Regions from separate parts of the Homo sapiens genome. Here regions 1, 2, 3, 5, 6 and 7 are each linked to region 4. Evidence: promoter capture Hi-C in 16 types of primary human blood cells and fetal thymus (Javierre and others, 2016). All regions are on one chromosome and are shown on one strand. The core of a region is centred on a gene start or on the middle of the fragment in contact, and the rest is flanking DNA. Distances in the headings are between cores, read along the strand shown.

Region 1 (3,516 bases), core at 587-3,086, 380 kb after region 4:
AATTGGATTTCATTAATTAAATATGCACAGTTACAGTAGATAAAAGTAATACAGTATGTATGTCTTTTAGCCCTTTTAGATATTTTTTGAAAATATTTCATTTGTGTGTATGTGTTTACTGGTCAAATGAAAATTTTAAAAGTCTTCAGTCTTAATTTTCAGTCATGTAGAATGAAGTCTAAAGTTTATTTTTGCTTTTTCACTAGGCATTTTGATTTCCTTTCTTTTTACAGCATGGACACCACGTTGCTGAAAACATGCTTTGGGACTGCCACTGAATTTATCTTTTGCGGTTTTATGACAAAGTTATTAGTAGTTTCCCTTTTTTGAATTAGTATTTTGAAGTTAATATCACAATGAGTTCAGGCTTATGGAGCCAAGAAAAAGTCACTTCACCCTACTGGGAAGAGCGGATTTTTTACTTGCTTCTTCAAGAATGCAGCGTTACAGACAAACAAACACAAAAGCTCCTTAAAGTACCGAAGGGAAGTATAGGACAGTATATTCAAGATCGTTCTGTGGGGCATTCAAGGATTCCTTCTGCAAAAGGCAAGAAAAATCAGATTGGATTAAAAATTCTAGAGCAACCTCATGCAGTTCTCTTTGTTGATGAAAAGGATGTTGTAGAGATAAATGAAAAGTTCACAGAGTTACTTTTGGCAATTACCAATTGTGAGGAGAGGTTCAGCCTGTTTAAAAACAGAAACAGACTAAGTAAAGGCCTCCAAATAGACGTGGGCTGTCCTGTGAAAGTACAGCTGAGATCTGGGGAAGAAAAATTTCCTGGAGTTGTACGCTTCAGAGGACCCCTGTTAGCAGAGAGGACAGTCTCCGGAATATTCTTTGGAGTTGAATTGCTGGTAAGTTTGATAAACCATTTTAGTAGTGTGTTTGTTTGTGTTCATGTGTGTCTGTGTATTTGTATGCACATACATATTTTTCTCCTTAAATACGAAATAAATTTTCCCAAGAGTCTTCTGTAATTTTTAATATTCATCATCCTTGCTGATGAATCCATGTTGTGGTTGAATCCATAATCCAAAACTTGCTTATAGTTGTCACTGATAATATGTGTGAAAATCACCTTGGCGTTTATTTCTGTTGGAAAGAGACCCAAGAACTCTGTGATATGTTTCCAAGCTTAATATTCATTCTTGAGAACTTAAATGTCAATTATATTTTGACATTCTTGCAAATAGAATTGTATGCCTTCTTTGCTTCTTGATTTAATTTCTTTTGTTTACTTTTTAATGATGAATTGCGAAGATGTAAAGATGATGTCGAAACTTAAAAAACTATGTACTATGGTAGGAACATACAAAGAGATTCACCTGGCTATTGCAGACATATATATTTTAGAAATTTTAACATTGCCTGTATTAAACATGAACGCTACCAGTTGTAAATAGTTACATAAAAAATTGTTAATTACCTTGCGTTATCATCTATAGGTTTCTTAGTTCTTCTTAATGTATGTTATTAAATAACAATTTAGATATAAGATTTTTGAAAAAAAAGTTGCAGAAATTTAAACTTGCTTATAATTGTCCCCGATAATATATGTGAAAATCCTTAGAATTTATTTCTACCGGAAGGAGACCCAAGAATGCTGTGATATGTTTCCAAACTTAATATTCATTCACAAGAACTGAAATGCCAATTACATTTTGACACTCTTGCCAATAGAATTGCATGTCTTCTTTGCTTCTTGATTTAATTTTTTTTAAAAGCAGTGATTGTAAACAATTAGGAATTTGAATCCCAGTTAAGCCATTTACTAGCTGGGTTGCCAGGTTACTTAACAAAGCTACTTAACTTCTCTCATTCTGCATCCTTACCTGTACAATGGTGTTAATAGTACATGACTTGTAGTGTTTTTGTGGTACATTGATGCAGGATTTAAGCACAGTGACTGACAATAAGTGCTTAATGAATGGAGCTAACATTACTGCTATTTTAAAGTAACATTTTCTTTTTATAACCAAATTAATGTTAGAATCACAACGTGGAATTCAGCCTAGCTTTCTCATGATAGAGTTATGAATTGAAATTATCAGATAATATTATTTCAGCATCAGATACAACTTCTTATTTTTTAAAACACTCTAAATCCAACAGAAACTGCTAATAATTGTATTTCTTATTATATGTATCATTTAGAAATTTTCCAGAGTGATTTTCCTGAAATCCCTAGAGTGAACCCCTTTTCCTATGGATCGTCTTTCTATATCTATTTCTTTCCCTTCTCTCTTAAAAACTAGGAAGAAGGTCGTGGTCAAGGTTTCACTGACGGGGTGTACCAAGGGAAACAGCTTTTTCAGTGTGATGAAGATTGTGGCGTGTTTGTTGCATTGGACAAGCTAGAACTCATAGAAGATGATGACACTGCATTGGAAAGTGATTACGCAGGTCCTGGGGACACAATGCAGGTCGAACTTCCTCCTTTGGAAATAAACTCCAGAGTTTCTTTGAAGGTTGGAGAAACAATAGAATCTGGAACAGTTATATTCTGTGATGTTTTGCCAGGAAAAGAAAGCTTAGGATATTTTGTTGGTGTGGACATGGTAAGAAAATTTTGGATTAAATATCTTTGTGATATATATATTAGTTTATATATATATGTATATATATATATAAACATATATATACACACATATATATACACACATATATATGTATAGTTTATATATATATGTATTAGTTTTAGGACCAATTTACTTGCAAATTGAACACTTTGAATATTTAACATGATCTAATTTGGAGTACTTTAAAGAACATGTTCTAATTTATCTTTGGTAAAGGAGCATTGAAATAGAACAGGGGTCTAGATACAGATTACATTTACTTTTTTTTCCCATTTGAATAAACTAGAATAATGTTCTCTATCTTTAAATTTGCCTTATTGTAGCTGACCAGTAGACAAAACAAAACAAGACAAAACACAATTATATTACTTGAAGTCCTATTTTTCTTTATTTTGAAACAGTTTTTTGGGGTACTCCATTTTTTTGTGATATTCTACACAATTTAATGGCTGATCTGATTTTAATAATTAGTATAATAATCATTTATAGAAAATACCTGAGTAGAGGAAAACCACATTGATTTTGAGGAATAGACAATCAGAATATCTCATAGGATTTCATTCATTTTAAAAACCTTTTTTAATTGTGGTAAAATATACATAACAAAATTTATCACTTAAGCATTTTTAAGTGTGCATACAGTGGCATTAAGTGTATTCACATTGTTGTACTGTCACCTGTTCATCTCCAGAACTTTTTCATCATCCCAAACCGAAACTCTGTGCCTGTTTTAACAGTAACTGCCCACTTTCCCCAACCTCTGCTAACCACAATTTCTTCTGATTTCTCTGTCTGAATTTGCCGGTTCTAGGCTCCTCATAAGAGTGGAATCATACAACATTTGACCTTTTGTTTGTGTCACTTATTTTTAATGTTTCCTTACAATCATACTTTTTAATAATGGATCCATTCCAGTGTGGTTCATTGGATT
Region 2 (3,528 bases), core at 350-2,849, 340 kb before region 4:
TAAGCTGATCTCAGCTAGTTGAGATCTTAATAAAACACAGAATTAAATGTAATTTGAAATAGGCCCAAAACTATGTAGTTAATATAATTTTCTAAATTAGGTGAGAATATAACTATTCGCCTAAGGGTTGGCTCTTTATATTTCAGTATTTAATAACCCCAAACCTGACAGGAGTTTTAACCAGCAATTGTATCTGTAGCAAGAGTTGCAAACTCAGGAGCAGTGGCTAGGTAGAAGAACCTAGGGAGAGAAAGAATATGGCAGACAGGAAGTACCTGACTGCCTGGCCTGGAGAGAACTGCTGTTTCAATGCATTGGAGTGTTGCCATGGAGGGAGGAAGGCTGAAACTGATGGCCTAATTAAAATGAAGACATAAAGCACTGTATATGCTAACCTGGTGCAGGCCACACACAACAGAGCTGGCTTATGAGAAACTCCTCGGAGGTTTGAAGAAGACGTTCTTCTGGAATATTAACTTTTCCTTGGGTCATCATCTTTCTGGGAGCTTCTTTCCTGGTATTTTCAGCCTCTCATTTCTTCATCTGACAAACTTCTGTAACCAGTACCATGCTGAGCCATCTACCTGGTGCTTCTGTCTTGAAACACGTGCCTGCGCGTCTCCTGCTGTGAGAGTGGAGTGGGGATGTGCTTAACTTGATTCTCTTGCTCCCATCTAGTTACTAATCCACTTGATTTCTTTCTACACAGGCTCTAAATGCTTGTCTTCTCTGTGTCTCCAGTCAACGTTTCCATTTCGGTGCCTATTCTTATTCCAGTCATGGATCCTGGACCCTTGTCCCTCTACATATTCTTAGACTTGTGGATTGTCCTGTTTTCTGCTATCATTTGATATGTCCAGATCTGAAATCAGCCCTTTCTTTCTCCTTCGTTCTAGTTCTTTATGGATAGCTACTAATCGTTTTTCCCTACTTGAATGTCCTGTGGTCATTTAGATCTCAGTAGCTTCAAAACCAAATTTGTTTTTTGCCTCTGCAGGGAGGAAGGGGTGATGCTGGAATTGAGTGTTATGAGGATATGTAAGAGTTAGCCAGGTGGAGGGAGAGAGGTGAACAAGGCAGCATATGTGTGGAAATATGGCAGGAGATGAAAATTAGACTGGGATCAGGTTATGAATGGCAGAGTTTGCTCAACTCTTTTAAGGAAGCTTTTTAACAGTAAAGGTAGGCTGAGCGTGGTGGTTCACGCCTGTAATCCCAGCACTTTGGGAGGCCGAGGCGGGCAGATCACCTGAGGTCAAGAGTTCAAGACCAGCCTGGCCAACATAGTGAAACCCCGTCTCTACTAAAAGTACAAAAATTAGCCGGGTGTGGTGGTGGGCGCCTGTAATCCCAGCTACTTGGGAGGGTGAGGCAGGAGAATTGCTTGAATCCTGGAGGTGGAGGTTGCAGTGACCTGAGAATGTGTCATTGCACTCCAGCCTGGGTGACAAGAGTGAAACTCTGTCTCAAAAAAAAAAAAAACAGGGAAGGTAACTAAATCAAGTTTGATTTGTGTTTTCATTGAGACCAGAGGCCTCATCTTCACTCATTCAATGCAGAGTTCAGTAAATATTTTTGATAGGGTTGTTTTTTGATTATAGGAATGAATTTGTAATAGTTCAAGTATTTGAAATGAATGGAGGGAATACTGCTATATTTATCTTGCTTTATAGAAGATAGCCTATACATTTTTATTTTTACAACGCAGCAATACAGAGAACTAAGATTATTAGAAGTCTTCAAATCCTCATGGTTTATATGATAAAAAATATTATATATATTTATGTACAAGTGGGGAGGTAGGAATCAGCCATCCTAAGATTTTTAACATTTTTATATTTTCATCTCTTCTTTTACAGGTGTCCTTCTTCACATCATTATGGAATCACCCATTTTTCACCATTAGCTGTATCACTCTAATAGGCTTGTTCTTTGCTGGAATACACAAGAGAGTAGTTGCACCATCAATGTATCCTTTACCAAGGATTAAATTCCATTCTCTGAAGTGCTTTGTTGATCTAGGTAATGGTTAAAAGCTTACTCTTGCCGGGCGTGGTGGCTCACGCCTGTAATCCCAGCACTTTGGGAGGCTGAGGTGGGTGGATTTCCTGAGCTCAGGAGTTTGAGACCAGCCTGGGCAACATGGTGAAACCCCATCTCTACTAAAATACAAAAAATTAGCCAGGTGTGGTGGTCTGTGCCTGTAGTCCCAGCTACTCGGGAGGCTGAGGTGGGAGAATCGCTTGAACCCGGGAGGCAGAGGTTGCAGTGAGCTGAAATCACGCCACTGCACTCCAGCCTGGGCGACAGAGCAAGACTGCGTCTCAAAAAAAAAAAAAAGAGTACGCTTTGTGTTTTTTTTTTGAGACAGAGTCTTGCTCTGTCGCCCAGGCTGGAGTGCAGTGGCGCGATCTCGGATTAGCCAGGATGGTCTCGATCTCCTGACCTTGTGATCCGACCGCCTCGGCCTCCCAAAGTGCTGGGATTACAGGCTTGAGCCACCGCACCCGGCCTAAAAGCATACTCTTGAAATGAGAAATTTTCCTTTGACCACATGTATTCAGTATAGCTGCTCGATGTCGAACGGTATTAGCAGAATACAATATGTCTTGTGATGATGTAAGTATTTTTTTGGTTAGAAAATTATAGACCTGCATGAAAACACTGAAATTTTTGGCTTTAGAAAGGTAGACATTTTATTAGCAATAAATTTTCTCTGTGGAATGAATAGTGAGAATATACTTAGAGCATTGATTCTAAGGTACTTTTACATTTAACATCTTTGGCATTGAGATCCATCTTACAGTCAATGAGATCTGACAAATTGGGAGAGTTGACAATTTAATCTTTCTTAATGACATAAAATCATGATGCATCTTATAACTGATGCATCTTAGATTCAGTGAAGTACAGTGGTTGTTTGTTATTGACCAAAAATGGCTCAGCGGATATTGGTTTTATAAACTACTGTTATTTATCAAGTGATATGCTATATATGTTATTTGTAAATATAGAGTCATAGATTAATTTGTGGACTATGGACATATGAACCTATTGTGTTTTTAAAAGTAGATGATGGGAGACTGGGCATGGTGGCTCATGCCTCTAATCCCAGCATTTTGGGAAGCTGAGGCAGGAGGATCTCTTGAGTCCAGGAGTTTGAGACCAGCCTGGGCAACATTAGCAAGACCCCATCTCTACAAAAAAATGTAAAAATTAGCCAGGCAGGTGGTGCACACCTGTAGTCCCAGCTGCTTGGGAGGCTGAGGCAGGAGGATTGCTTGAGCCCAGGAATTTGAGGCTGCAGTGAGCTGTGATCATACCACTGCAGTCTAGCCTGGACGACAGTGAGACCCTGTCTTTAAGTAAATTAAAAACTATCATGTACCAGTGTGTAATAAGGGTGTCTCACAATTTTGATAGGTAGCTTCTATTTTGATTTGCTTATTTTATTTATAAAAGTGTCTTAGCCTTCAATTTAAAAAGTCATTAAACAAGTAATACCTATTCATTACAGAAATTAGAATA
Region 3 (3,324 bases), core at 591-3,090, 360 kb after region 4:
CTGCTTTAGGCTCCGAGGGAACACTTTCTCTCTAGAGGAGGTTGACAAGCTCGGCTGCAGGGACACCAGACTCTTGCTTTGAAGTCTCCGGGAGGATGTTCGTCTCAGTTTGTTTGTGAGCAGGCTGTGAGTTTGGGCCCCAGAGGCTGGGTGACATGTGTTGGCAGCCTCTTCAAAATGAGCCCTGTCCTGCCTAAGGCTGAACTTGTTTTCTGGGAACACCATAGGTCACCTTTATTCTGGCAGAGGAGGGAGCATCAGTGCCCTCCAGGATAGACTTTTCCCAAGCCTACTTTTGCCATTGACTTCTTCCCAAGATTCAATCCCAGGATGTACAAGGACAGCCCCTCCTCCATAGTATGGGACTGGCCTCTGCTGATCCTCCCAGGCTTCCGTGTGGGTCAGTGGGGCCCATGGATGTGCTTGTTAACTGAGTGCCTTTTGGTGGAGAGGCCCGGCCTCTCACAAAAGACCCCTTACCACTGCTCTGATGAAGAGGAGTACACAGAACACATAATTCAGGAAGCAGCTTTCCCCATGTCTCGACTCATCCATCCAGGCCATTCCCCGTCTCTGGTTCCTCCCCTCCTCCTGGACTCCTGCACACGCTCCTTCCTCTGAGGCTGAAATTCAGAATATTAGTGACCTCAGCTTTGATATTTCACTTACAGCACCCCCAACCCTGGCACCCAGGGTGGGAAGGGCTACACCTTAGCCTGCCCTCCTTTCCGGTGTTTAAGACATTTTTGGAAGGGGACACGTGACAGCCGTTTGTTCCCCAAGACATTCTAGGTTTGCAAGAAAAATATGACCACACTCCAGCTGGGATCACATGTGGACTTTTATTTCCAGTGAAATCAGTTACTCTTCAGTTAAGCCTTTGGAAACAGCTCGACTTTAAAAAGCTCCAAATGCAGCTTTAAAAAATTAATCTGGGCCAGAATTTCAAACGGCCTCACTAGGCTTCTGGTTGATGCCTGTGAACTGAACTCTGACAACAGACTTCTGAAATAGACCCACAAGAGGCAGTTCCATTTCATTTGTGCCAGAATGCTTTAGGATGTACAGTTATGGATTGAAAGTTTACAGGAAAAAAAATTAGGCCGTTCCTTCAAAGCAAATGTCTTCCTGGATTATTCAAAATGATGTATGTTGAAGCCTTTGTAAATTGTCAGATGCTGTGCAAATGTTATTATTTTAAACATTATGATGTGTGAAAACTGGTTAATATTTATAGGTCACTTTGTTTTACTGTCTTAAGTTTATACTCTTATAGACAACATGGCCGTGAACTTTATGCTGTAAATAATCAGAGGGGAATAAACTGTTGAGTCAAAACAGCCATCTTCCTTGTGACCAAACATTTAAAAATATTCTGGCTGGGCACAGTGGCTCACGCCTGTAATCCCAGCACTTTGGGAGGCCGAGGTGGGCAGATCACCTGAGGTTGGGGGTTTGAGACCAACCTGACCAACATGGAGAAACCCTGTCTCTACTAAAAATAGTGGAGGTTGCAGTGAGCCAAGATCACACCGTTGTCCTCCAGCCTGGGCAACAAGAGTGGAACTCCATCTCAAATAAATAAAGAAAATAAAAAATAAAAATATTACTAAAACTTGTCAAATTTTAAAGCACAATTTTCTACTTGAAGCGGAGGAAAATGATGTTTTCAACCCGATAATGTATAGCTTAAGGCAAAAGCAATTCTTAGAAAATAGCCAGGCAATCAAAACACTTTTGGCTTCAGTTTAGAAAAGTTTAACCCCGTGAAGTTTTCAGCTGTGCAGGAGCCTCCCCGTACCCAGCCTAAAAGGCTGCAACACATGTGAAAAGGCCCCTTGGCCCCCCTCGATTCCCTCAAAGTGGCTCCAGGAGTCTTTAACAGAAGGATGGAGAAGGTTTACTTATGGCTGGCTCTCCACAGCGAGCAGCCTCTCATGCAGGCCTTGTGTTAAAATAGTGCTTAGCTGCGTTTAATAAGCAAGGGATCAGGTGGTCACCCAGCAAGGTAAAATCCTACTTCCTTGAAAGGTTTTGCGTCTGGCTGACTCGGTGGTGTGGCATCTCCCTGGACCCTGCATGGGAGTGTGTCTATGGGTTTTCTTTGTGATTGGTGCCCTGTTCTGCCCAGACCATTGTTTCTGATACAGCAGATCAGGAGGAAGGTGGTGTTGAGTCTCCTTTCGCTGAGGAGTACACACAGCAGCCCATTTGCATAGCACTGTATTGGGTTGTCAGTTTGTCATCTTTAAATTCATTCAGCAATGAGGCCAGGCATGGTGGCTCATGCCTGTAATCTCAGCACTTTGGGAGGCTGAGGCAGCTGGATCACTTGAGGTCAGAAGTTCAAGACCAGCCTGGCCAACATGGCAAAACCCTGTCTCTAAAAATAGAAGAAGAAAAAAAAAAGTTAGCTGGGTGTGGCAGCGCACGCCTGTAATCCCAGCTACTTGGGAAGCAGAGGCAGGAGAATCGCTTGAATCTTGGAGGAGGAGGTTGCAGTGAGCTGAGATCATGCCACTGCACTCCAGCCTGGGCGACACAGCGAGACTGTCATAAATAAATAAATAAATAAATTCAGCAATGATTTATTAACCAGTTATATTAGGATGACCAGTGGATTGACAAAACAGACATGGTCCTCAAGGTGCTTAGGTGAGGGTGGAGGGAGAGGCAGGCAGAAAACAAGTCAGTTGAAAAAGACATGAAAAAGTCTTCATCCAGGCACTGTGGCTCATGCCTGTAATCTCAGCACTTTGGGAGGCCAAGGTGGGCAGATCACTTGCGGTCGGGAGTTCGAGACCAGCCTGGCCAACATGGTGAAACCCTGTCTCTACTAAAAATACAAAAATTAGCCGGGCATGGTAGCAGGTGCCTGTAATCCCAGCTACTTGGGAGGTTGAAGCAGGAGAACTGCTTGAACCCGGGAGGCAGAGGTTGCAGTGAGCTGAGATCACACTACTGCACTCTAGCCTGGGCAACAGAGCAAGACTCCGTATCAAAAAAAAAAAAAAAAAAGTCTTCAGGCTGTTAAGGGGCTGGTCCGAGACAGGTTGTCTGAGGAGGTGCCAGGTAAGCTGTGTCCCCAAGAATGAGAAAGATATGGCCAAGCAAAGAGTGAGAGGGAAGAAGGGAGCATTCTAGTAATGGGGGACAAGAGGTACAAAGACCCTGGTGAGGGAAGGAGCGTGGTATGCATGGTAGGCTCAATAGTCACTCCCGAACATATGTAGATCCTAATCCCCGGGACCTGGGAATGTTGCCTTACCTGGCAAAAGGGACTTTGGAGGTGGGATTCAGTTAAGGGTCTTGAGATGGGAAGAT
Region 4 (3,286 bases), core at 275-2,774:
TCCTCCCACCTCGGCATTCCAAAGTGTTGGGATTACAAGTGTGGGCTACTGGGCCCAGCCATTAATTATTATTTTGCCCAGCTTTCAAACCAAGATGGTAGCTACTCATTCTTTTCTGTTAAATGCAAATGGTTAAGAATATCAATCTCCATTACAGGTTTCTGACCAAATTTTCTCAACACACTACAACACTGTTTTAAAAGATTTAAAGTTGCTCATTACAGATTTGGCATTATAATATTTATTTCAGAACAAACTTTAAACCCCAGTAGATCCCACTCGCTTCTGAAATGACTATTTTTGACAATCCTTGAACACTGAGGCTTTCTTGAGCATGACTTTTTACCCTGCCTAGATGGAAAAACCATTCTTTGAAGCAGCTCCTCAAAATTTGGACTTAGCTGCTTCCTCACCTGATGTGCGAGTACAATTGCCTAAGAGTATAATCCAAAAACGACTTGCTGAAACTCATAGATGATTCATGTCTCTATTCTGTCCTGCTCCTCCTCAAACGAGCCAGATCTTAGAGGCGTTTGTTTTCCCCAGATACAAAGAAAATAAAATGAGGTTGGCACCTGGAAGAGGCAGTGCCGTCCGCAAAGCCAAAGCAATGTAACCACTTGTACCTTAACTCTTCTCCGTTTTCTCCCCTTTTCTTCCCCTGGAATCTGCTTCTCTCCTTTCTTTCTCTTTTTCCGCTTTCTGTCCTTGTGTTTGTCATGATCGTTTTTGTCTTCGAAGAGGCTGGAGTCGTGCCCCGAGCTGCCCGTGGAGAGTTCGGTGACTTCGTTCCCTCCTACTTTGAGGACCAGCTTCAAGGGCTTCTCTACATACTCTTAAAAAAAGAAAAGAAAAGAAAGGAAAGCGCGTCGATTAAAATCGGGGCTCTCCAGGGAGTGCTAAGGATGCAGAGCGCCAAGGCGCAGCAAGCCCGAGGCGGCTTTGGGCGCTCCGCGAAGCACCTGTTGAATGACGGACCCCGGCCCGGGGGTGCGGCGGCGCCGCCCGCCCCGAACGCTCCCAGGCCTCCCGGGCCCGCCTCACGTCTCCCCACCAGAGACCCACCGGACCAGGGGGACCCGGGTTCGAATGCCGCGGCCGCACGGGGGGCAGCGCGGCCTCCGGCAGGACGCGCCCCCTTCGCCGGCCTGGGCCTGCCGTGGGAAGGAAGGGCCCCGGGCCGCCCCGGAGCCACTGGGAAAGAGCGGAAGCCCGGCAGAGCCGCCGAGGGCCCGCCGCCCGCACCCCGGCCCCCTCCTCACCCTCGTAGAGGTGTTTGTCCGACTTGTGCTTCTTGTGCTTCTTGCCCATGTCCGACCGGGCCCCGGTGCCCGCCCCCCGCGCCAGGCCCAGGCCGTGCGGCGCCGCTTCCGGTCCGGGCCAGGCGAGCGGAGGGCGGGAGCGGGGCCCGCGAGACCCCGCGCCGCGAGGCAGGGGGGCGGCGCGCGCCGGGCGGCGCGATGCCCCTCTCGAGAAGACGGCGCGCGAGACCCGGCCGGAGCCCGAGAGCGGCGGCGGGGGGGGCGCGCGGCCGGCGCAGAGGCGGGAAAGAAGGCCCGCCGCGCGCACAGGGTGCCGGCGGCTGCGGGTGGCGGCCCCTGGCGACCGGAGGTGGTGCTGCAGCTCGCGGGCCGGGGGCGGGGCCGAGGGCGGGGCCGGGGCGGGATCCACCGCTCAGACTCTCGTCTTTCTTCCTTCCTCCCTTTCCCCTCAATTTGTCTGTCTTGTCTCTGTCTCTGTGTGTCTCTCCCTCCGTCTCCACTTCCCTCCCTTCTTTTTACTCCCTCCCTCTCTTTCTTTCTCTTTCCCTTCTTCCCTTCCTTCCTCCTTCCTTCCTTTCTTTCTTCCCTCCTTACTGCCTCCCTTCAAGCCTTCCTTCTCTCTTTTCTTCCTCCCTCATCACCCTTCCTTCTCCTCTTCCCGTCTCCTTCCCTCTTTTTTTCTTTTCTTTTTTTCCCCTTCCTCCTTCCCCCACTCTTCCTTTCTTTCCACTTTCCCTTGCTTCTGTTTCTTCCCTTTTACGATATTGACTGAACCCCATACTGGGTGCCAGACCCAGCAAACTCAGCACATTGGTGACTGAAGATTCTAATCTTAAAAAAAACTTATGTGCTGATAGGTGAAGGTTACCAGACGTTTTGACTGTCTTTACTTCTAGCTGTATGGTGCTTTGTCTGTTTTCAGATAAGCTCGTAATTATAGTCTCCTCTTAAGAAAGGATCTGTTATCAGTCATTTATACTTTAGTAACAATTTAGACCCATGAATCACCTCTCCCAGGAAGATTTGTAGCTTTACCTTGAACTTCAGTGGTGAAATTATAGGCTTATATTTTAGGACCCTATTGTTGGCAACTAATAGAAACCAATTTGAATTATTTCAAGTAAATAAAAAGGGATTTATTGGTTTACATGTCTAGAAAGGGCAAGAATAAAGCTTGCCAGAGGGAAGACAGGAACCAAGGATGTAATGCTGTTGACTGGCATGCCAGCTCGCTCTCTCTCTTGTCTCTCTGTATATCGGTCTCCATCTCCCCCCTTCTTTCCTATATGGCTGGAAACATGGCCACCATCTGCTTCTGAGGCCTCTTCTTTATAGTGTCCTGACCAACTGGGAAAAAGATCTCTTCCTGTCAGCTTCACCTGGAAAACAGTCCCAGGGAAGGACTCTGATTGGCTTGGCTTGTGTCACATGTTTTATGGGACAGGGGATGGGAGATTGATTCGGCCTGGATGCCAAATCTACCCCCTCACCCCCTTGGCCAAGAGAAGTGGAGTCTGTGATTGGCAGCTCCTGCCAGACTTCTATGGTTAGCCAGGGAAGATGAGGTTCTTCTAATGAAGAGAGTTGCTTTTTCATGAAAGCTAAAAGTGTGTGTCTATTATTTCCCTGTAACAAGCCTCTCTGGTGTCCGTGAGGCAGAGATCAGGGTGTGGGAAGAGGGGTTGTGTTGGGGAAGAGACCTTCTGCTGCTCTGAAATCAAGCCAGCTAGGCCCCCTAGGCCCCCTAAGCATAGGGCAAAGCTTGGTTTCAGCTTTTCATCCACTGTCTGTAACTTATTTTGCTTTAAGAACCACTATGCCAACTCCCACTGTGGGTCTGGCCTCTATTGTGGCATTGCCTTGCTCCAGGCTCAACCTGTGGGTTTACCTGTCTGCTCCTCATTACCCTGGGTACCTCCTTGGTACTTACAGTGCCTAGCACAGTGACTACTACTGTCCAAATGCCCCTCAGAGGAAAAAGGTCTGGTGAACTCATCCATACTATCAAGTTAGTAATTTCCCTA
Region 5 (3,471 bases), core at 581-3,080, 400 kb after region 4:
ACAAGGAATTCTTCATTAGTAGTATTTATCTTAAAAACATTTACGGTTTTGTTTTATTAAAATATTGGTGGAGGATTGAGATAATTAAAATTAGTTACATGAATATCTTGGGCGTCACTTGTCAGGCACACTTTGATCTTCTAAATCAGTAGTTATCATTGTCATTATTGCTGGCTCAGAGCAGTGAAGAGAAAGAAAAAGAATGATATTTTTTTTTCTTTTAAAGCTTGATTTTCATAAACCCTCAATAGGAGATAATTAAGAATGATACCAGCATTTATAACATAATACATAAATTACACTTATTTGTCAACAAAATAAAGCTTGCAAATAGACTTTAAAAACTAAAGTTGTTTAAATGAAAATTAATTTAGTTTACTTAAATGAGTCTTCATCTGCCTTTCATGTCATCATTAGGACTCTTTTCTTGAGGGGAAAAAAAAGTCAAAGTGTCTCCTTTAGTTCCTTAGTTTCTTTTTCTTGCCCAATTACCTTCATCCGTGAAACAAAATTAATATTTACAGCATTTAAAAAAGAAAAAAGATTCTTTTCAGAGCAGTTGAATGGCTGGGAAGCTTAGGAAAGAATTCTTTCTAGTCAATTGCTTGTAATAGTTGGCTTCTGAAGGATACCTTTGATTGAAAGATGCAGGAATCTTAAACCTGTTATAAAATTGTTTCTCTCTTATATTTCTGTTCTAAATGGTTAAAAACACTGCTAACATATCTAATTTGACATTATGTTCATGTTCTTGAAGTTGTTATGATGAAGCATATCAATTAGCACCACCCCAAAATTATACATTTCGGTTTTTCTAGTTCAACCTGTGTCTTCTGTTCTAGTTGTGGGGGTTGGGAGTATAATGCTGTTTTTTTGACGATCTCTACGATCAAGATAGTGAACATATCCATCACCCCAAAATATGTCCCTTGGGATCCCTCCCTCTGCCTCTTCCTGTCCTCTCAACCCCCTACATTCAGACAACCACTGGTCTTCTTTACATCAGTATACACTTGTTCACATTTTTAAGGATTTTACAAAAGTGGAATAACTCAGAATGCATTCTTTTTTGTCTGGCTTATTTCACTCGACATAATTATTTTTTATTCATCCATGTTGTCCTTTTTATTGTTGATATGGTTATATTAGTTTCTATATCCATTCACTTGTTGATGGACACTTGAGTTTTTTTCAGTTTTTGGCTATTATGAATAATGCTGCTATGAAAATTTGTGTACGAATCTTTGTATGGACATATGCCTTCATTTCACTTGGGTACTTACCTAGATGTGGAATGGCTGGTAATATCATAGGTGACTGTTAACTTAAATAAAACCCCCAAACCTTCCAAGCTGTGTTTCCAAAGTGGTTGCATTATTTTACATTCCCAGAAGCAGTATATGAGAGATACAGTTCTTCCATATCTTTGCCAACACTTGGTATGATCAGTTTTTTAAATTTTAGTAACATCTAATTGTGGTTTTACTCTGCGCTTCATTGGTGACCAGTGATATCAAACATCTTTCCATGTGCATATTTGTCATCTGTATATCTTCTTTGGTTTAGTATCTGTGAAAGTCTTTGGCCGATTATTAATTGTTTCTTTATGATTGGGTTTTGAGAGTTATTTATAAATTTTGAATACAAACCCTTTTGCAGATATATGCTTTACAGCATTTCAGATTATTATAGATTCACATGCAGAGAGAGGGACCCTGTGTGCCCTTTAGCCAATTTTTCCCAGCGGTAACATTAACATGTTGTAAAACAAGACGTGTGCAACATCACAACCAGAATGTTGACCCTGATACAATCAAGAAGCAGAACATTCCCATCCCACAAAGATCTCTTATCTTGCCCTTTTACTGCCGCACAAATTCCCTCTTCCTCCTGCCCCATCCTTAACCTCTGACAACCACTCATCTGCTGTCGATTTCTGTAATTCAGTCATTTCAAGAATGTTACATAAATGGAGTTGTACAGTATGTAACCTTTTGAGACTGGCTCTTTTTTCACTGAGCATAATTCTCTGGAGATTTATCTACATTATTTTATATATATCCATGGATTGTTCCTGTTTATTCCTGAGTAATATTCCATATTATGGATGTATCAGTTTGTTTAACTGTTTAGCTGTTGAAGGACATCTGGTTTGTTTCCAGTTTTTGGCTATTATGAATAATGCTTTTATAAATATTTGTGTGTAGTTTCCTGAGTGCACATAAATCTTTATTTCTTGACATAATTGTCCAAGTGCGTATTCGGTGATATTTGCAAATTTAGTTTCTTAAGAAACCGCTAAACTGTTTTCCAGAGTGACTGTACTCTTACTTTACCACTGGCAATATATGGGTAATCTGGTTTCTCTGTATCCTTTCCAGCATTTGATGTTGTCCCTATTTTTAATTTTAGCCATTCAGAGAGATTTGTAGTTGTATTTCACTGTGATTTTGATTTGAATTTACCTGATGGCTGCTGATGTTGAACATCGTTCCGTGTACTCACTGTCATCTGTATATATTCTTTTTCTTTCTTTCTTTTTTTTTTTTTTGAGATGGAGTCTTGCTCTGTTCACCCAGGCTGGAGTATAGTGGCGTGATCTCGGCTCACTGTAACCTCCACCTCCTGGGTTCAAGTGATTCTCCTGCCTCAGCCTCCCAAGTAGCTGGGATTACAGGTGTGCGCCCCCGAGCCCAGCTAATTTTTGTGTTCTTAGTAGAGAGAGGGTTTCACCATGTTGGCCAGGCTGGTCTCGAACTCCTGACCTCAAGTGATCCACCTGCCTCGGCTTCCCAAAGTGCTGGGATTACAGGCATGAGCCCCTGCACCCAGCCTTCGTATATATTCTTGAGTGAAAGGTGTCCTCATCTCTTTTGCCCAGGTTCTCATTGGATCCTGTGCTTTTTTACTGTTGAGTTTTGAGAAGTCTTTATGTATTCTAGATACTAATTCTTTGTTCAATATATGGTTTGCACATTTTATTTCCCAATGTGTAGCTTGTCTTTTCATCCTCTTAATAGGGTCTTTCACAGAGTACAAGATTTTTATTTTTATGAAGTCCAATTTATAGTTTTTCTTGTGTGGGTCAAGCTTTTGTGTCAAGTTCGACAACTTTTGTTTAGCTCTACATATGGAAGATTTTCTCCTAAGTTTTTAAAAATTGAAATGTAATATGTTGTGCAACCCTCACCACTATCCAGTTCCAGAACATTTTCATGGGAACCCAGTACCCATTAAGCAGTTACTTCCCATTGTCTCTTACCCTGAGACCCTGACAACCACTGATCTGCTTTCTATCTCTACAGATTTGCCTATTCTGGACATTTCACATAAATAGAATAAAAGATATGTGGCTTTTGTGTCTGGCTTCTTCAGTTAAGCATAATCTTTTCAAGGTTCATCCGTATGATAGCAAAATCAGTACTCTAACCTTCTTTATGGTTGAATAATATTCCAATAAATGGATCTGCC
Region 6 (3,789 bases), core at 1,253-3,752, 370 kb before region 4:
TGCCTCAGCCTCCCAAGTAGCTGGGATTACAGGAATGCGCTGCCACACCCTGCTAATTTTTTGTATTTAGTAGAGAGGGGGTTTCACCATGTTGGCCGGGCTGGTCTCAAACTCCTGACCTCAGGTGGTCCACCCGCCTCGGCCTCCCAAAGTGCTGGTATTACAGGCTTGCGCCACTGCACCCAGCCAAATTATCTTAATATTTTCAGACCGAGGTTGACTGACTTAAATGGAGGAAAACAAAACCATGGATAGGAGGGACTACAGTACTTGTTGAAATTCTTCTTTCAGACTGATGTAGAACCGTCAAACTCACTTCTTACCACCTAGCCTGGCCAAACTTGCCTCAGACTCCTCCACTCAGACACCTGCTAGGTGCTGGGATACAGGGTGAGCAAAGTTGTCTTTGCTCTGTCCTGCTTCTTGTGGAAAAAGTATTCATCAAACGTTAAGCAGTCGAAACAGTGATTAAGTAAACACAGAAGCAAGATTATAACTGTGGTGACAGGCAGGGAAGTGGAGGCAGGTGGATAACGGTGCATCAGAAGGTTCACTCTGATCCAAACCTTTATCCATATTAACTCATTTAACCACCAAAAAGTCCTACAGGTACGTTCTGTTATTATCCCCATTTTAGGGATGAGAAAACAGATGCACAAGGAGGTAAAGTGCCTTGCCCTGGGTCACACAGCTCAGCAGTGGTCCAACCAGATTCACATCTAGGTCTGACTCCAGAAGCCGGGTATAATCCCCAAATTCACTGCCTCCATAAATATTGAAGGAGGTTAGGAATGGAGGCAGCCACATTCTCCCAAGGGCTGACCCAGATGGCACCAGCCTACACGTGGGGAGCACGTGCCAAGATGGGAAATCAAGCGGACAAGCCCGCAGGCCGCAGGGGAGGCCGGAGGGACCCTGAGCAGCTGCTGGATCTCCCTGAGTTCTGGGGTCAACATGCCCGTTTCTCATCTAGGGAAACTGAGGCCCACAAGGAGTAGGAAAACTGAGGATCTGAGGTGCCCCTGGGCCTCCCCAAACTCCCCCTTTGTGAGGTGGTAGGGGTGCAGGGGCTGCAGAAGTCAAGGCTGCAGTGAGCTAGGATTGCCTCACTACTCCAGCCTGGGTGACAGAGTAAGACCCTGTCTCAAAAAAAAAAAAAAAGAAGCCAGATGTGGTGGTTATTCATGCCTGTAATCCCAGCACTTTGGGAGGCCGAGGCGGGTGGATCACCTGAGGTCAGGAGTTCGAGACCAGCCTGGCCAACATGGCAAAACCCTATCTCTACCAAAAATACAGAATTCAGCTGGGCATGGGGGCAGGTGCCTGTATTCCCAGCTACACAGGAGGCTGAGGCAGAAGAATTGCTTGAACCTGGGAGGCAGAGGTTGCAGTGAATCGAGATCATGCCATTGGACTCCAGCCTGGGCAATAAGAGTGAAACTCCATCTCAAAGAAAAAAAAGAGAGAGAGAGAGAGAGAAAGACATTTGTGTGCCAGAAATTGTTCAAAACATTGGGGGTATGGCGGAGAGGATAAAATTTCTGTGGTCATCAGCTTACATTCTAGTATGAGAAGACAACAATGAAACAACACAGCTTATCACCCACAGCTGAGATTCATTTTACATCATTTCTCAGTACACACACAGACACAGACACATCAGTATAAAACTGAAACTCAAGTTTTACAAAACAATGCTTACCTCATAGCCTGTCAGCTCCTCAAAAGACCATCAAAAAACCAAAAAACAAGCCATCAAGCAAAGCTAACTTTGTTAGATGTTCTGCAGTCATGGAGACCACCATCTTGACAATCTTCATAGTATTTTAGAAAGGGGAAGGCGAGGAAAGGAAATGTATATTATTGGGATCTGGGCTCAAGTGGTTCAAAGAAGGTCTTTCAAGACAGAAATTGATTGGGATTGGGCACATTTCATGACATGATACTTTAGGATTGGTGAACACATCAAGGCAAGGGTCTTAAAACCAGTCTCAATCAGTGAAACTGCTGTTTGATAGGCAAGCTGTTTTCCCAGATGAGCAATCTGTTACCCAGATGGGAGAGCTCGTTCAGCAAACTGTCCAGATAAATTGGCTTGGATGAATTCCCTAAAGCAAAAGAATCAGTTCTTACTGGTTTACAGCCTTATCTTACTACACACAGCATCATTTTTGCTGTATTCTATAGATCCAAGCAATAGCAAAGAGAACCCTCATTCAAGAGAAGGGGTCTTAGACCCTGTGATATAAGGAATGTTAAAGAATTTACAGCCATCTTAAATTCTCCATGCTGGGATTACTTGGAAAATAAGGAGTTCCTTCTTCTGAGCTAAAGAAAGAAGAGGAACCAAGGAGAAGCAGGCAGCATGGATTGGCTGGTTATATCCAGTGGAACTTTCCTTCCAGCACAGAGAACTACATGTGACTTCTCCTGCCCTTGCCAGTCTCACCTTTGGGTCTCAAGATTGGGTCTAGTCTTCCTAGACACTTTCTTTCTCCTTTCTTGGGAACCACATCATAAGGTGAATTAGGCTGTTCCTTGGGTCTATGATTATAGCAATTTTCAGAAAAGTTTTTAAGGAAGGCTTTTTCCCATGTTCTTGTCTCTGAAAGGGTGTTCCACTTGTTCAGGATATGGAATGGGGAATAATGAGGTGACCAGCCTACAAAGCTGGAAACATACATAGCAATCATTTTTTCCTTTGAACATTGACTATTGAATGAGCCATATATAACCACCTATTAATATCATACCCAGAAATAAGCAACAAAATTCATAAATCTAGAAAAAAAAGTTAACAAAAGCAATTATTGGCCAGGCACTGTAGCTCACATCTGTAATCCCAGCACTTTGGGAGGTCAAGCCAGGAAGATCACTTGAGGCCAAGAGCTTGAGACCAATCTGGGCAACATATTAAGACCCTGTCTCTACAAAAAATTAAAAAATTAGCCAAATGTGGTGATGTGCACCTGTAGTCCCAGCTACTTGAGAGGCTGAGACAGGAGGATCGCTTAAGCCCAGGAGTTCAAGGCTGCAGTGAACTATGATTGCACCACTGCACTCCAGCCTGGGTGACAGGGTGAAACCCTATCTCTTAAAAAAAATTATCTCCTTCTTTATATTCAAGTAAATGAGCAAAGAATGGAGAGCAGAGTAACTAGACTATATCAAAGAAGATTTAAAAGGCAAAAAAAAGAAAAGCAAGGTGAGGTTTTGATTTGGAATTTGGAGCAGAAGCTGTCTATTTCGCATGTCATCTACTTGATCTCATAGTCTCGTGTAGCTGTTTTTCTTCCTGTTACTGTCTGTTTCTAAAGGACTCTGAGCATCTTCCAATGGCTGTCTAATTGGCAGAGGATGAAACTCTGTGTTATTCCAGCTGAGAGACATGAATCCAGGAATGGGTACCCTGGAACTTCACCACTGCGCCAGTGCTCAAAGTACCTGGTGGGTCAAGGTGGCACAGAACAGTTTCTCCCTGCTCCTCCCCTCAAAGCAAAACTATAAACCCTGGAAGCAATGCAAAAGGCAACCAAGAGAGAACTCTGAAAGACAGTAAGAAGAAGGCAAACTGGTCTGGGTCCCCAAGACTGGAAGAACAACAAAGCAGGAGGGCATCTTATGTTCCCCCCAAACCCAATCCAGACCTGGCATTTCCCAACCCACACTGTTGTTACAGAAACCAGCCCAGATATGGTCATTTCTCCCCCAAATTGAACAGGACCTCTGACAACATCAGGGTAGTCCAACACTACCAGCAGGGGGACAGATTGGAAGTCCCACCAACAC
Region 7 (3,339 bases), core at 260-2,759, 360 kb before region 4:
CTGATCAGCTGCAAAGACACCACAGTGGAAGAGTGACAACACCAGATGTGTGGAGCTCCGCCTGCTGTGGACACACCTGGACAGAGCACTTCAGCCTTGGCAGGGTCTCCTGGGATTTCCAGTCCCCACCTCCCCTGACCTCCTCAGGAAGGTGTGCACACCAATGAGAGGTCATGAAGAGAAGGGGTGTTATGTAAAACGAGTCCCAGAAAGCCACAAGGCCAGGCTGCGCCCTCTCTGAGCAGCTAATTCCTCCAAGAGTACCCAGACTTAGCTTCTTTCACTTTGCTTTAACCTAGGAAAGTTGTTAAATATTTATTATGGGACATCAGTGTGCTTTTTCATGGGGGTAAATATACACAACCTTAAAATACATATATAGCATAATTTCAACATTTTAGCCATTTTTACACATGCAATTCAGTGGTACATGTACATTCACAGTGCTGCGCAACCATTAAGTTTCATTCTCTGAACGCACACCTTGAGTTCCTGATATGTGTCAGGCATGGTTATAGTCACTGAGGAAAGCAAAATAGGTCTTTGCCCTAATGCAGCTCACATTCTAGTTGGAGAGACAGACAATAAACATGGAAGAAATATCAATAAATACAATTGTCACATATTGACAGGTGCTAGAAAGAAAACAGAACAGGGTAATTATGACCATATGTATGGAGCACTTTCTATGTTCCAGCAGTGATCCAAGGGCTTGGCAAGAATTATCTCACAGGATCCCTTCTGCAGTTCTTTGAGGACAGCACCTGCCTCAGTCACGGGTAAGAAAGTAAAGCACAGAGAGCTTCAAACTGCACAGCGAGTAAGCAGGATGCAGTGGTCCAGATGGTGATGGCAGAGGAATACTTATGGCTGGGGGAGGGGTGTAATCCCAGCACTTTGGGAGGCTGAGGTGGGTGGATCACTTGAGGTCATGAGTTCAAGACCAACCTGGCCAACAAGGTGAAACCCCATCTCTACTAAAAATACAAAAATGAGCCGGGCATGGTGGCACGTGCCTGTAATCCCAGCTACTCAGGAAGCTGAGACAGGAGAATCGCTTGAACCCAGGAGGTGGAGGTTGCAGCGAGCCAAGATTGCACCACTGCACTTCTGACTGGCAACAGAGCAAGACTCTGTCTCAAAAAAAAAAAGAAAAAAAGAGAGAGAGAGAGAAAGAGAAAAAGAGAAGTACTTAAGCTGGAGTGATCCAAGTCCTCTTTGCAGAAAGGGCATTGAGCTGAAGCCTGACATTGCAAGAGCAAGCCAGGGCAGGAGAGTTCCAGTGAGAAGAGGTAGCAAATGCAAAAATCCTAAAACAAGCATGGCTCTTTGAAGGATCCAATGGGGCTGGAGCCAAGTAAGCCTGGGAGAGTGCGGGGAGTGAGGGTAGAGGTGGGATGTGGGTGGGGGAGACCTGTGAGAAGCATCTGCAGAGGTAGGCAATGTCCAAGCCTACAGGGTCTTGTGTAGGGCGCCCAACTGTCGTGGTTTGCCTGGGACAAGTTGGTCACCCTACAAGGTGGAATATTCCTCAGATTTTATTTTAAGTGCAAAGGAAAGCAATGAGGAGGTGTTAGATAAGGAGGGACAGGCCCTCTCTGGTTACTGTACCAAGGAGGACCAGAAGGAGAGCAAGAGGTGAAGCAGGGAGATAGCGATGAGACGCTTGCAACCTTCCAGGCAACTGTGTTGATGGCCAGGACTTGGGTGACCATGGTAAGGGTGAGAGATGACTGGATTTGGGATCCATTCTGGAAGTAAGGTGACAGAGCTGATGGATTGGGTAATGGATGTGAGATTAAGAAGGGGACTCAAGGATGATCCCCAGTTCTTGCCTGAGCAAATAGTGGGTGGACACGGGGCCATTTACTAAAATGGTGACCATGGATAAAGAGCAGGTCTGGGGAGAATCAACTTGAGCCCCATGTCCTCTAAGAAGCCTCCTCTGACCCCCAGACTGAGGAAGAAGGGAGGGAGACTCTCGAGGGCAAGAATTCCCAGTTGTCCTGCTTCAAGACCTGGTCCTCCTTCCCTCCCCTGCTTCACCATCGCCCTTAACCCCAGTCTACAGAAGAAAGGCCCACCTCTCGCCCCGCTGAGTTACAATGGGGCGGTGCCCAGGTGCATGGAAGACAGCACTGGCTGCAGGAACAAGAAGGACATCTTATTCAAAATAAGGACACGCTTGAAGTCTCCTCAAACCATGAGCAATAAATCCATCCTGCACTCTTGGCTTTCTTGTCCTGTTTAGATTCTCAGTTAAGAGTGAAGCACTGGCTGGACATGGTGGCTCATGCCTGTAATCCCAGCACTTTGGGAGGTCATGGCAAAGATGGCCGGAGCCCAGGAGTTTGAGACCAGCCTGGGCAACAAAGGCAGGCCCCGTCTCTACAGATAATTTAGAAATTAGCCAGGTGTGGTGGCACCCGCCTGTGGTCCCAGCCACTTGGGAGCCTGAGGCAAGAGAATCCCTTGAGCCCAGGAGGCTGAGGCTGAAGTGAGCTGTGATCGCACCACTAAATTCACTAAATTCCAGTCTGGGTGACAGAATGCGACCCTGTCTGAAGAAAAACGTCTGGTGTGGTGACTCATGCCTGTAATCCCAGCACATTGGGAGGCCAAGGCAGGCGGATCACCTGAGGTCAGGAGTTGGAGACCAGCCTGGCCAACATGGCGAAACCCCATCTCTACTAAAAATACAAAAATAAGCTGGGCATGGTGGCGTGTGCCTGTAATCCCAGCTACTTGGGAGGCTGAGGCAGGAGAATCGCTTGAACCTGGGAGATGGAGGTCACAGTGAGCCAAGATTGAACCACTGCCCTCCAGCCTGGGTGACAGAGTGAGACTCTGTCTAAAAAAAAAAAAAAATGAGTAAAGCATTGCTTTGAATACAAACAATTTTTACAAACATGTTGAGTTTTCACAGGGATTTGCATTGAAAAGTGAAGTAAAGTTTCTGAGAGAAATTAAGTCTGATTTTACTGATCAGTTTGACAATAAGAACTGGCTTTGTGCATTAAAGAAAACGGTGAATAGTGTCTCCAAATCAAATGAACTAAATTGACTCCTTTGAGGTTTTGATGAAAATATATTTAAGATATGTGATAAGATAAAAAGCTTTTCTATTTTTCAAAAAACATTAGCAAAGATGTATCTTATATCACCAATATTACAATTTCCCCAATTGTTTCTGAGCCTATTGGGCTAAACAAGTTGTCTCTAAGTGAAGAAAGAATAGGTAACATTTGTTGCAATTTGACACATTTTAGTAAAGCCTTTTTGATACATTTTCCAGAAACTGAGGGTGTAAGAGAGTCTGACCAAGTAAGAAACCTTTAG

What was found. Contacts are between HindIII fragments. The CHiCAGO score rates a contact against its expected background, and 5 or more counts as called.
Region 1: a contact is called between a fragment that was not itself captured here and the fragment with the promoter of BRD7 in region 4, in 17 of 17 cell types (activated CD4 T cells, naive CD4 T cells, naive CD8 T cells and 14 more). The highest score is 68.0, in activated CD4 T cells.
Region 2: a contact is called between a fragment that was not itself captured here and the fragment with the promoter of BRD7 in region 4, in 13 of 17 cell types (neutrophils, naive CD8 T cells, activated CD4 T cells and 10 more). The highest score is 21.1, in neutrophils.
Region 3: a fragment that was not itself captured here is called in contact with the fragment with the promoter of BRD7 in region 4 in 16 of 17 cell types (naive CD8 T cells, naive CD4 T cells, total CD8 T cells and 13 more); the score reaches 56.3 in naive CD8 T cells.
Region 5: a fragment that was not itself captured here is called in contact with the fragment with the promoter of BRD7 in region 4 in 16 of 17 cell types (total CD4 T cells, non-activated CD4 T cells, activated CD4 T cells and 13 more); the score reaches 61.6 in total CD4 T cells.
Region 6: a fragment that was not itself captured here is called in contact with the fragment with the promoter of BRD7 in region 4 in 2 of 17 cell types (neutrophils and monocytes); the score reaches 10.9 in neutrophils.
Region 7: a contact is called between a fragment that was not itself captured here and the fragment with the promoter of BRD7 in region 4, in 16 of 17 cell types (neutrophils, monocytes, M2 macrophages and 13 more). The highest score is 34.2, in neutrophils.

The regions. Positions count from the first base shown.
Region 1 is chr16:50,749,343-50,752,858 of GRCh38, forward strand. CYLD (CYLD lysine 63 deubiquitinase) reads left to right here. Exons shown (of 19, transcript NM_001378743.1): 3 at 234-860; 4 at 2,262-2,564. The coding sequence starts at 357. Among named protein-coding and RNA genes, the nearest start is that of CYLD-AS1, 8.4 kb to the left of the region's middle. The HindIII fragment of the contact is 1,396 bases long and covers 1,139-2,534 here.
Region 2 is chr16:50,031,538-50,035,065 of GRCh38, forward strand. It overlaps CNEP1R1 (CTD nuclear envelope phosphatase 1 regulatory subunit 1), which reads left to right. Exons shown (of 6, transcript NM_001281789.2): 4 at 1,860-1,969; 5 at 2,565-2,619. Among named protein-coding and RNA genes, the nearest start is that of CNEP1R1, 8.1 kb to the left of the region's middle. The HindIII fragment of the contact is 870 bases long and covers 1,165-2,034 here.
Region 3 is chr16:50,731,738-50,735,061 of GRCh38, forward strand. It overlaps NOD2 (nucleotide binding oligomerization domain containing 2), which reads left to right. Exons shown (of 12, transcript NM_001370466.1): 12 at 10-1,338. The coding sequence ends at 82. CYLD-AS1 (CYLD antisense RNA 1) reads right to left here. Exons shown (of 7, transcript NR_184279.1): 4 at 481-623. Among named protein-coding and RNA genes, the nearest start is that of CYLD, 8.7 kb to the right of the region's middle. RefSeq lists a silencer at 1,781-2,075. The HindIII fragment of the contact is 5,332 bases long and covers 1-3,324 here.
Region 4 is chr16:50,367,464-50,370,749 of GRCh38, forward strand. BRD7 (bromodomain containing 7) reads right to left here and starts at 1,525. Exons shown (of 17, transcript NM_013263.5): 1 at 1,263-1,525; 2 at 627-835. The coding sequence starts at 1,311. RefSeq lists silencers at 914-1,423, 1,454-1,703. The HindIII fragment of the contact is 8,339 bases long and covers 1-2,433 here.
Region 5 is chr16:50,767,917-50,771,387 of GRCh38, forward strand. The region is part of intron 5 of CYLD (CYLD lysine 63 deubiquitinase); the gene reads left to right. Among named protein-coding and RNA genes, the nearest start is that of CYLD-AS1, 27 kb to the left of the region's middle. The HindIII fragment of the contact is 2,515 bases long and covers 574-3,088 here.
Region 6 is chr16:49,992,157-49,995,945 of GRCh38, forward strand. No RefSeq gene overlaps it. Among named protein-coding and RNA genes, the nearest start is that of CNEP1R1, 31 kb to the right of the region's middle. The HindIII fragment of the contact is 5,462 bases long and covers 1-3,789 here.
Region 7 is chr16:50,011,902-50,015,240 of GRCh38, forward strand. No RefSeq gene overlaps it. Among named protein-coding and RNA genes, the nearest start is that of CNEP1R1, 12 kb to the right of the region's middle. The HindIII fragment of the contact is 3,211 bases long and covers 1-3,115 here.